Linked DNA regions of Homo sapiens: region 1 is linked to region 2. Evidence: promoter capture Hi-C in human tissues and cell types (Jung and others, 2019). All regions are on one chromosome and are shown on one strand. Each heading gives the region's core, a stretch centred on a gene start or on the middle of the fragment in contact. The rest is flanking DNA. Distances are from core to core; before and after follow the strand shown.

The links. The method cuts DNA at HindIII sites, captures the fragments that hold promoters and counts their contacts. A contact is called where the count stands out against the background at its distance.
Region 1: a fragment that was not itself captured here is called in contact with the fragment with the promoter of PPP6R2 in region 2 in 2 of the 25 tissues and cell types used here (H1 embryonic stem cells and dorsolateral prefrontal cortex).

What each region holds. Positions count from the first base shown.
Region 1 is chr22:50,424,144-50,429,395 of GRCh38, reverse strand. The region is part of intron 10 of PPP6R2 (protein phosphatase 6 regulatory subunit 2); the gene reads right to left. Among named protein-coding and RNA genes, the nearest start is that of MIR12114, 19 kb to the right of the region's middle. The HindIII fragment of the contact is 3,827 bases long and covers 1,748-5,252 here.
Region 2 is chr22:50,342,026-50,346,977 of GRCh38, reverse strand. PPP6R2 (protein phosphatase 6 regulatory subunit 2) reads right to left here and starts at 3,651. Exons shown (of 24, transcript NM_001242898.2): 1 at 3,428-3,651. RefSeq lists silencers at 3,391-3,470, 3,481-3,760, 4,031-4,200 and an enhancer at 4,297-4,943. The HindIII fragment of the contact is 17,181 bases long and covers 1-4,952 here.

The sequences.
Region 1 (5,252 bases), core at 2,412-4,911, 82 kb before region 2:
TAAAGGACGAAAGCCAAATGATCATCTCAACTCATACAAAAAAAATCTGATAAAATTCCACATACGGCCAGGTGCGGTGGCTCATGCCTGTAATCCCAACACTTTGGGAGGCCGAGGAGGGTGGATCACCTGAGGTCAGGAGTTCAAGACCAGCCTGGCCAACGTGGTGAAACCCCATCTTTACTGAAAATACAAAAATTAGCCGGGCATGGTGGCACACGCCTGTAATCCCAGCTACTTGGGAGGCTGAGGCAGGAGAATCGCCTGAGCCCAGGAGGCGGCGGTTGCCGTGAGCCAAGATCATGCCACTGCACTCCAGCCTGGGCAACAAGAGCAAAACTCTGTCTCAAAAAAAAAAAAAAATTCAACATACTTTCTTGATAGAACACTCAAACTAGGAATAGAAGGAAATATCTTCAGTATGATAAAGGCACCTATGAAAAGCCCATAGCTGACAACATATTCAATGCTGAAAGACTGAAAGCTTCTCTAAGATCAGGAGCGAGGCAAGGATGCCCACTCTCACCACTGCTATTCGGTCTTCTCTTAGCAGTCCCAGCCAGAGCAATTAGGCAAGAAAAAGAAATAAAAGGCATCCAAATGGTAAAGGCAAAAGTAAAATTATCTTTGTTCCCAAATGACATGATTTTTTTTTTTAGAATATGTATTTTTTTTTTGAGCAAGGATCTTGCTCTGTTGCCCTGGCTGAAGTACACACAGTGGCGTGATCTCGGCTCTGCAGCCCTGACCTCCCAGACTCAAGTGATCCTCCCTCTTCAGTCTCCTGAATAGCTGGGACTACAGATCTGTGCCACCACACCTGCCTAATTTTTATTCTTATTTATTTTGTAGAGACCAGGTCTCACTATGTTGCCCAGGCTGGTCTTAAACTCTTGGGTTCAAGCAATCCTCCTGTGTAGGCCTCCCAAAGTGCTGGGATTACAAACATGAGCCACCACACCTGACCTGATATGATCTTACACATAGAAAATTCTAAATATTCCAGATAAATTGCTAGAGCTAATAAATGAATTCAGCAAAGTTCTAGAATACAAAATTGACACACAAAAAAGCAGCTGCATTTCCATACACTAGCACTGAATAATCCAAAAAGGAAAGTAAGAAAACAATTTTATATATGACAGCATCCAGAAGAATTAAGTCAAGGAGATAAAAGATTTGTACACTGAAAACTACAAAACACTGCTACAAGAATTTAAAGACCTATTTAAAGTAAATGGGGCCAGGCACGGTGGCTCATGCCTATAATCCCAGCACTTTGGGAGGCCAATGTGGGCAGATCACTTGAGGTCAGGAGTTTGAGACCAACCTGGCCAACATGGTGAAACCCCATTTCTACTAAAAATATAAAAATTGGCTGGGCGTGGTGGCTCACGCCTATAATCCCAGCACTTTGGGAGGCCAAGGTGGGCGGATCACGAGGTCAGGAGATCGAGACCGTCCTGGCTAATATGGTGAAACCCTGTCTCTACTAAAAATACAAAAAATTAGCCACGCGAGGTAGCAGGCACCTGTAGTCCCAGCTACTTGGGAGGCTGAGGAAGGAGAATGGCGTGAACCTGGGGGGCGGAGCCTGCAGTGAGCCGAGATCGCGCCACTGCACTCCAGCCTGGGCGACAGCGAGACTCGGTCTCAAAAAAAACAAAACAAAACAAAAATTATTTTGTGGTGGCGGGCACCTGTAATCCCAGGTACTCATGAGGTTGAGGCAGGAGACTTGTTTGAACCCGGGAGGCAAAGGTTGCGGTGAGCCGAGATTGCGCCACTGCACTCCAGCCTGGGCAACAGGGTGAGGTTCTGTCTCAAAAATAGAAATAAATAAATAAATACATAGGAACACATCTGTGTTCATGGATTGAAGACTTAATATTGTTAAGAAGACAGTATTACCCAAAGTGATCTATAAATTCAATGCAATCCCTACCAAAATCTGAACAGCAATTTTGCAAACATTGAAAAACCCATCCCCAAATTCATACAGAATCTCACGGGATGACTTTGAATAGCCAAAACAATCTGGAAAAAGAACAAAGTTGGAAAACTCACACTTATCACTTACTACAAAGCTACAGTCACCAAAACAGTGCGACACTGGCATAAGGACAGACATATAAACCAACGAAACAGAACAGAGAGTCCAGAAAGAAACCTTTGCACACATCACCAGCTGTTTTTTTTTTTTTTTTGAGATGGAATCTCGCTCTGTTGCCCAGGCTGGAGTGCAGTGGCACAATCTCGGCTCACTGCAAGCTCCACCTCCCGGGTTCACACCATTCTCCTGCCTCAGCCTCCCAAGTAGCTGGGACTACAGGCACATGCCACCACACCCAGCTAATTTTTTCATATTTTTAGCAGAGACGGGGTTTCACTATGTTGGCCAGGATGGTCTCAATCTCCTGACCTCATGATCCACCCACCTCAGCCTCCCAAAGTGCTGGGATTACAGGCATGAGCCACTGCGCCCGGCCGGCCAGCTGGTTTTTAACAATTAGGCCGAGACCATTCATGGGGGAAAGGACGGTGTTTTTTTTTTTTTTTTTTGAAACAGAATCTCGCTCTGTCACCCAGGCTGGAGTGCAGTGGTGTGATCTTGGCTCACTGCAACCTCCGCCTCCCAGGTTCAAGTGATTCTCCTGCCTCAGCCTCCCAAGTAGCTGGGATTACAGGCGCTGCCACCATGCCTGGCTAATTTTTGTATTTTTTGTAGACATGGGGTTTCGCCACATTGGCCAGGCTGGTCACAAACTCCTGACCTCAGGTGATCTGCCTGCCTTGGCCTCCCAAAATACTGGGTTTACAGGCGTGAACCACCGTGCCCGGCCTAGGACAGTCTTTTCAACAAGTGCTGGGAAAACTGGATAACCCCATGCAAAAGAATGAAGCTGGACCCTTACTTTACACCAGATACAAAAATTAATTCAAAATGGATTAAAGACCTAAACATAAGAGAGAAAACATACAACTTTTTGAAGGAAGCATAGAGGAAAAGCTTCATGATACTGATTTGGCAATGACTTTTTTGGATATGACACCGAAAGCACAGGCAACAGAGAAAAAAAGATAATTGGATTTCATCAAAATTTAAAACTTGTGTGTCAAAGGTCATTATCAAGGAGTAAAGGCTGGGTGGCTGGTGGCTCACGCCTATAATTCCAGCACTTTGGGAGGCCACGGCCGGAGCATCACTTGAAGTCAGGAGTTCAAGGCCAGCCTGATCAACATAGCGAGACCCCATCTCTACAAAAAATATAAAAATTAGCTGGATGTGGTGGCGCATGCCTGCAGTCTTAGCTACTCAGGAGGCTGAGGTGGGAGGATCACTTGAGCCCAGGAGTTCAAGGTTACAGGAAGCTATGATCACTGTACTGCAAGACCCTACATCTAAAAAAAATTTTTTATGTAAAAAGATAACCCAAAGAAAATATTTGCATATATCTGATAAAGGATTAATATCCAGAATATATATAGAACTTCTAAAACTAAAAAAAAAAAACAAAAAAAAAACTCAATTCAAAAATGGTCAAAGGACTTGAATAGACATTTCTCCAACGAAGCTATTCACATGGCCAAAAAGCACGAGAAGATGCTCGACATCACTTGTCACACGGAGACACTGTTCCACACGCACATCAGATGACGAGCATCAGCCACACGGAGACACCGTTCCACACGCACATCAGATGACGAGCATCAGAAGAAGGAAGACAAGTGTCGGCGGGATGAGGGGGAGGATGAGGAGAAAGGGGAGACTTTGTTGACAGGAAGATAAAATGGTGCAGCCACTGTGGAAAGGTCTGGCCTCAAAACTTAATCATGGAATTGTCACATGACCTGGCCTCATAGGTATTTATCCAGAAGAACTTCTTCTTACTTTCAGAAGAACTGAAAGTAAGGACTCAAACAGGTATTTGTACACCCACATATACAGCAGTGTTATTCACAATAGCCAAGGCTGGAAGCAACCCAAGTCTCCACTGATGGATGGATGAATGGACAGAATGTGGCCCACCCACACAGTAATTTTTCAGCCTTAAAAAGGAAGGAAATTTGGACATACAGTACAATACTGAATGAACCTTGGGCACATAGTGCTAAGTGAAATAAGTCAGTCACAAAAAGATAATACTTTATGATTCCACTCATAAACTGTACCTAGAATAGTCAAATTCAGAGACAAAGACAATGGTGGTTGCCAGAGACTGTGGAGAGGGAGAATGAATGGGGAGTTAGTGTTTAACGGAGAGAGTTTCTGTTTGGGAAAATGAAAAACTTCTAGATGTGAATAATGGTAATGGCTATACAAGATTGTGAATGCACTGAGTGACACACCTTAAAATAGTTAAAACAGCCAAGTTTATGTTATGATATTTTACCACAGTAAATATAAAAGAGAGGAAGAAAGTGGAAGACAGAATTCTTTTGAAGAAGGAAAAGGGGCTGGGTGCAGTGGCTCAAGCCTGTAATCCCAGCACTTTGGGAGGCCAAGGCGGGTGGATCACGAGGTCAGGAGTTTGAGACCATCCTGGCCAACACGGTGAAACCCCGTCTCTACTAAAAATACAAAAAAAAATTAGCTGGGCATGGTGGCGCATGCCTGTAATCTCAGCTACTCGGGAGGCTGAGGCAGGAAAATCGCTTGAACCAGGGAGTCGGAGATTGCAGTGAGCCAAGGTCCCGCCACTGCACTCCAGCCTGGCGACAGAGAGAGACTCCATCTCAAAAAAAAAAAAAAAAAAAAAAAGAAGAAGAGGGAAAAGGAAAGTAGGTCTCTTTTGTAATTGCTTCCCTGATGCAGACTGGGATCTCACAGCCAAAGCAGTGCCCAGAACTCATACACGCTGACAGACGTTCCACACGCGGACAGACCTTCCACACGCTGACAGACGTTCCACACGCGGACGGACCTTCCACACGCTGACAGACGTTCCACACGCGGACGGACCTTCCACACGCGGACGGACCTTCCACACACTGACGGACCTTCCACACGCGGACGGACCTTCCACACGCGGACGGACCTTCCACACGCGGACAGACCTTCCACACGCTGACAGAACTGAGCCAGACAGCACTTCGAGCCCAGTTCTGGGACTAAGATTGCAGGGAGATTCCAGCAGAGCCCCAGAGCCAGGCAGAAGACGGGGGCTGCGTCTGCCAACAGGACCCACTAGGGCAGTGCCCTTCGTTCTCAGGGGAGCAGCCTCATGCTCTCCGCAGAGGAGCCCGCCACC
Region 2 (4,952 bases), core at 2,402-4,901:
CTGACAGAAGGGGTCACAGAGCGCTTGGACTGACAAGGAAGGGCACTGGCAGGGGAGGGATTATGCGGTCAGTGACTGACGGGTACGGGTGGGGGTGCAGGCACTGATGGGAAGTGGGGACATGACAGAAAGAAAATAATTGACTGGGGGGGCACTGGCTGACGGGGGACAGGGATGCGGGACTCTGACTGGGGGACACTGATGGGGAGCAGAGTGGACTGACGGTGGGGGAGCACTGACCAACAGTGGAGGCACTGACCAGTGCGCGGACTGACAGATGCGGAGGCACTGACCGACAGGAGGAGCATGACTTGCAAGGGGCACTGACTGACGGTGGGGGGCACTGATGGGTGGGGTGGGGACTGATGGGTGAGGTGCAATGACTAGCTAGCAGGGGACACTGACTGGTGCAGGAAGCACTGACTGGTGTAGGGTGGGGGAACAGAAGGAGGGCACTGACTGGGGGGGCACTGACTGACTGGGAGGGAACTGACTGGAGGGGGCCCTGACTTGGGAGGAAACTGACTTGGGGGGCACTTACTGGAGGGGAACTGACTGGAGTGGGCACTGACTGGGGGCACTGATTTGGGGGGCACTGACTGGAGGGGGCACTGACGGGGGAACTGATTGCGGGGGGAACTGACTGGGGGGGCACTGACTGAGGGGAACTGACTGGGGGACACTGAAGGGGGCACTGACTGGGGGGAACTGACTAGGGGATGCACTGACTGGGGAGAACTTACTGGAGGGGCACTGACTGGAGGGGACAGTGACTGACTTGGGGGGGGCACTGACTGGGGGGCACTGACTGACTGGGGGAACTGACTGGAGGGGGAACTGACTGACTTGGGGGGCACTGACTGGGGGGCAACTGACTGGGGGAACTGACTGGAGGGGGCACTGACTGGGTGGGTCACTGACTGGAGGGTTCACTGACTGGGGGGAACTGACTAGAGGATGCACTGACTGGGGGGAACTGACTGGAGGGGGGCACTGACTGGGGGGGAACTGACTGGAGGGGGCACTGACTGGGTGGGTCACTGACTGGAGGGTTCACTGACTGGGGGGAACTGACTAGAGGATGCACTGACTGGGGGGAACTGACTGGAGGGGGGCACTGACTGGGGGGGAACTGACTGGAGGGGGCACTGACTTGGGGGGCACTGACTGGGGGGAAACTGACTGGAGGGGGCACTGACTGGGGGGGGGAACTGACCGGGGGGGGGGAACTGACTGGAGGGGGCACTGACTAGGGGGGCACTGATGGGGGGAACTGACTGGAGGGGGCACTGACTGGAGGGAAACTGACTGGGGGGAAACTGACTGGGGGGGAACTGACTGGAGGGGGCACTGACTGGGGGGAAACTGACTGGAGGGGGCACTGACTGGAGGGGGCACTGACTGGGGGGCACTGACTGGAGGGAAACTGACTGGGGGAAAACTGACTGGGGGGAACTGACTGGAGGGGGCACTGACTGGGGGGAAACTGACTGGAGGGGGCACTGACTGGAGGGGGCACTGACTGGGGGGCACTGACTGGAGGGAAACTGACTGGGGGGAAACTGACTGGGGGGAACTGACTGGAGGGGGCACTGACTGGGGGAACTGACTAGAGGGTGTACTGACTGGGGGGGGGAACTGACTGGAGGGGGCACTGACTGGGGGGGGAACTGACTGGAGGGGGCACTGACTGGGGGAAACTGACTGGAGGAGGCACTGACTGGGGGGGAACTGACTGGAGGGGGCACTGACTGGGGGAACTGACTGGAGGGGGCACTGACTTGGGGGGGAACTGACTGGAGGGGGCACTGACTGGGGGGAATTGACTGGAGGGGGCACTGACTGGGGGGCACTGACTGGGGGGAAACTGACTGGGGGGGCACTGACTGGGGGGAACTGACTGGAGGGGGCACTGACTGGGGGAAACTGACTGGAGGAGGCACTGACTGGGGGAAACTGACTGGAGGAGGCACTGACTGGGGGAAACTGACTGGAGGAGGCACTGACTGGGGGGAAACTGACTAGAGGGGGCACTGACTGGGGGGGAACTGACTAGAGGGGGCACTGACTGGGGGGGAACTGACTAGAGGGGGCACTGACTGGGGGGGAACTGACTAGAGGGGGCACTGACTGGGGGGGAACTGACTAGAGGGGGCACTGACTGGGGGGGGAACTGACTGGAGGGGGCACTGACTGGGGGAAACTGACTGGAGGAGGCACTGACTGGGGGAAACTGACTGGAGGAGGCACTGACTGGGGGGGAACTGACTGGAGGGGGCACTGACTAGGGGGAATTGACTGGAGGGGGCACTGACTGGGGGGCACTGACTGGGGGGAAACTGACTGGGGGGGCACTGACTGGGGGGAACTGACTGGAGGGGGCACTGACTGGGGGAAACTGACTGGAGGAGGCACTGACTGGGGGGAATTGACTGGAGGGGGCACTGACTGGGGGGAATTGACTGGAGGGGGCACTGACTGGGGGGCACTGACTGGGGGGAAACTGACTGGGGGGGCACTGACTGGGGGGGAACTGACTGGAGGGGGCACTGACTGGGGGAACTGACTGAAGGGGGCACTGACTGGGGGGGGAACTGACTGGAGGGGGCACTGACTGGGGGGAATTGACTGGAGGGGGCACTGACTGGGGGGCACTGACTGGGGGGCACTGACTGGGGGGAAACTGACTGGGGGGGCACTGACTGGGGGGAACTGACTGGAGGGGGCACTGACTGGGGGAAACTGACTGGAGGAGGCACTGACTGGGGGAAACTGACTGGAGGAGGCACTGACTGGGGGAAACTGACTGGAGGAGGCACTGACTGGGGGGAAACTGACTAGAGGGGGCACTGACTGGGGGGGAACTGACTAGAGGGGGCACTGACTGGGGGGGAACTGACTAGAGGGGGCACTGACTGGGGGGGGAACTGACTGGAGGGGGCACTGACTGGGGGAAACTGACTGGAGGAGGCACTGACTGGGGGAAACTGACTGGAGGAGGCACTGACTGGGGGGGAACTGACTGGAGGGGGCACTGACTGGGGGGAAACTGACTGGAGGGGGCACTGACTGGGGGGGAACTGACTGGAGGGGGCACTGACTGGGGGGCACTGACTGGGGGGAAACTGACTGGGGGGAAACTGACTGGGGGGGAACTGACTGGGGGGGAACTGACTGGAGGGGGCACTGACTGGGGGAACTGACTAGAGGGTGCACTAACTGGGGGGGAACTGACTGGAGGGGGCACTGACTGACTTGGGGGGGGCACTGACTCCGGGGGCACCGACTGGGGGGAACTGACTGGAGGGGGAACTGACTGACTGGGGGATAACTATCTGGAGGGGGCACTGACTGACTCGGGGAGAAGTGACTTGGGGGGCACTGGCAGACTGGGGGCCGGGTCTGAGCGGCGGGCGGCCGCACTCACCTGCCCTGCGGGCCGGGCGTCGCGGCAGCTCTTCGGAGGCCCGTGTGGAGGCCCGAGCGGAGGCCAGGGCGCTGGTGGAGGCAAAGCCCGGGCGGCCTCGGGCGGGCCGCACACACATGGGCCCGGCCGAGGGCGCAGCGCCTACGGACACCGGCACGGCCGGCCGGCGGCTCGAGACCGACTCGGGGCCGCGGGCGGCACTCCGATCGCTCCAAAATGGCGGCGGCGGCGCACGGGCACGCGCTCCGGGGGCGGGGTCTCCGCTTGGGGCGCGCACGCTCGCGGCCGGGGGCGGGGCCGCGCGGGTGGGCGGGGCCGGGACCTGGGCCGGCTCTCCGGGCCCCCTGGAGTGGGGCACTCGGTGAAACCCGCGTGGGAGCACGAGGGCTTGGGTGTGCTGACTGCTGCCTTGGAGTGGGTGGGGTAAGAGTGCGTCTTTCCCCTTTTACGTTTCCCTTTGAGGTATTGGCTAAAGTTTTGTGCAAGCATAGTTAATTTTGTTGTAGCCACAAAACAATCCTCGCGTGGCCCGACGCAGCATTTGAGAGACACACACCTGGGGCAGGGGTTTCCCCCGTGGCCCAGGAAAGGGCCTGTTCTCCCGGGCCTCCCTCCTGCCACAGGCCCCTCCCAGAGGCCGCGGGGCGTGGACGCCCCGAGCAGCAGGAGCGGGCTCAGCCCCGGGCGCCAGGCCTGGCCCCTCCCCGTCCCGCGTCCTGCCTGGACCCGGAGTGCCTGAGCCGCCTCCAGACAGTTTTCTCCAGGTGCGCTACGGGTTCTTGCACGGCGTTTTGCAAATTAAGTATGTGCCTATTTAACAAGTGCTGGAATTGTTTAATTCCATCAAAATAATTTCAAAAATGATTACTATTATTTCAGATGTTAGAGCGAGCCGTGGGTAAATGTTGGGAAAACATGGAGCACTTAAGGGATCTCTAAACGTTTTTTCCAGTTGTCAGTGTATTGCCCAGGATTCACCGATGCTCTCTGCGAAAGCGTATCTGGGCGGCTCAAATATTCGGTATTTCTCTTTTGCCAGCTGGCGCTGTTAGGCTTTGTCGGTAGAGGGCGCCAGAGACGTTGCAGGAGAAAAGGGCTTGGCCCTGCGGCTGGCGGCCCCGGGCTTCCCCGACGCCTGTCCCCTGCCCTGGTCAGCAGCACCCTCCTCGCCGGTTTTATAGCAGATGCCTCTGGCGAGCCTTTCCCCAGCAAAAGCTTTTCCCCTAGCATCCTAAGGGGCAGATTTCTGGCAGGTTCCGTTGAGGGAACTTCCAGGAAGTGGGGGTGAAAAAGCCTCAGCCTCACAACCTAGAGAAGAGACACCCTGCGTTCAGCAGGCTATGCCCTTCTCCTGCCCTCACCATGGTCTCCTTTGCAGGAGCGGGAGGTGCTGCTGAGTTGAGCTACGGAATGGGGACTGGGGCCAGGGGCACCAGATGCAGGAGATGCTCCTGCTGCCGTGAGCACGTGCAACTCTGCCTGATCTTGATACCCCTCCTGTGCTCAGCCAGTGCAACTGGGGTGA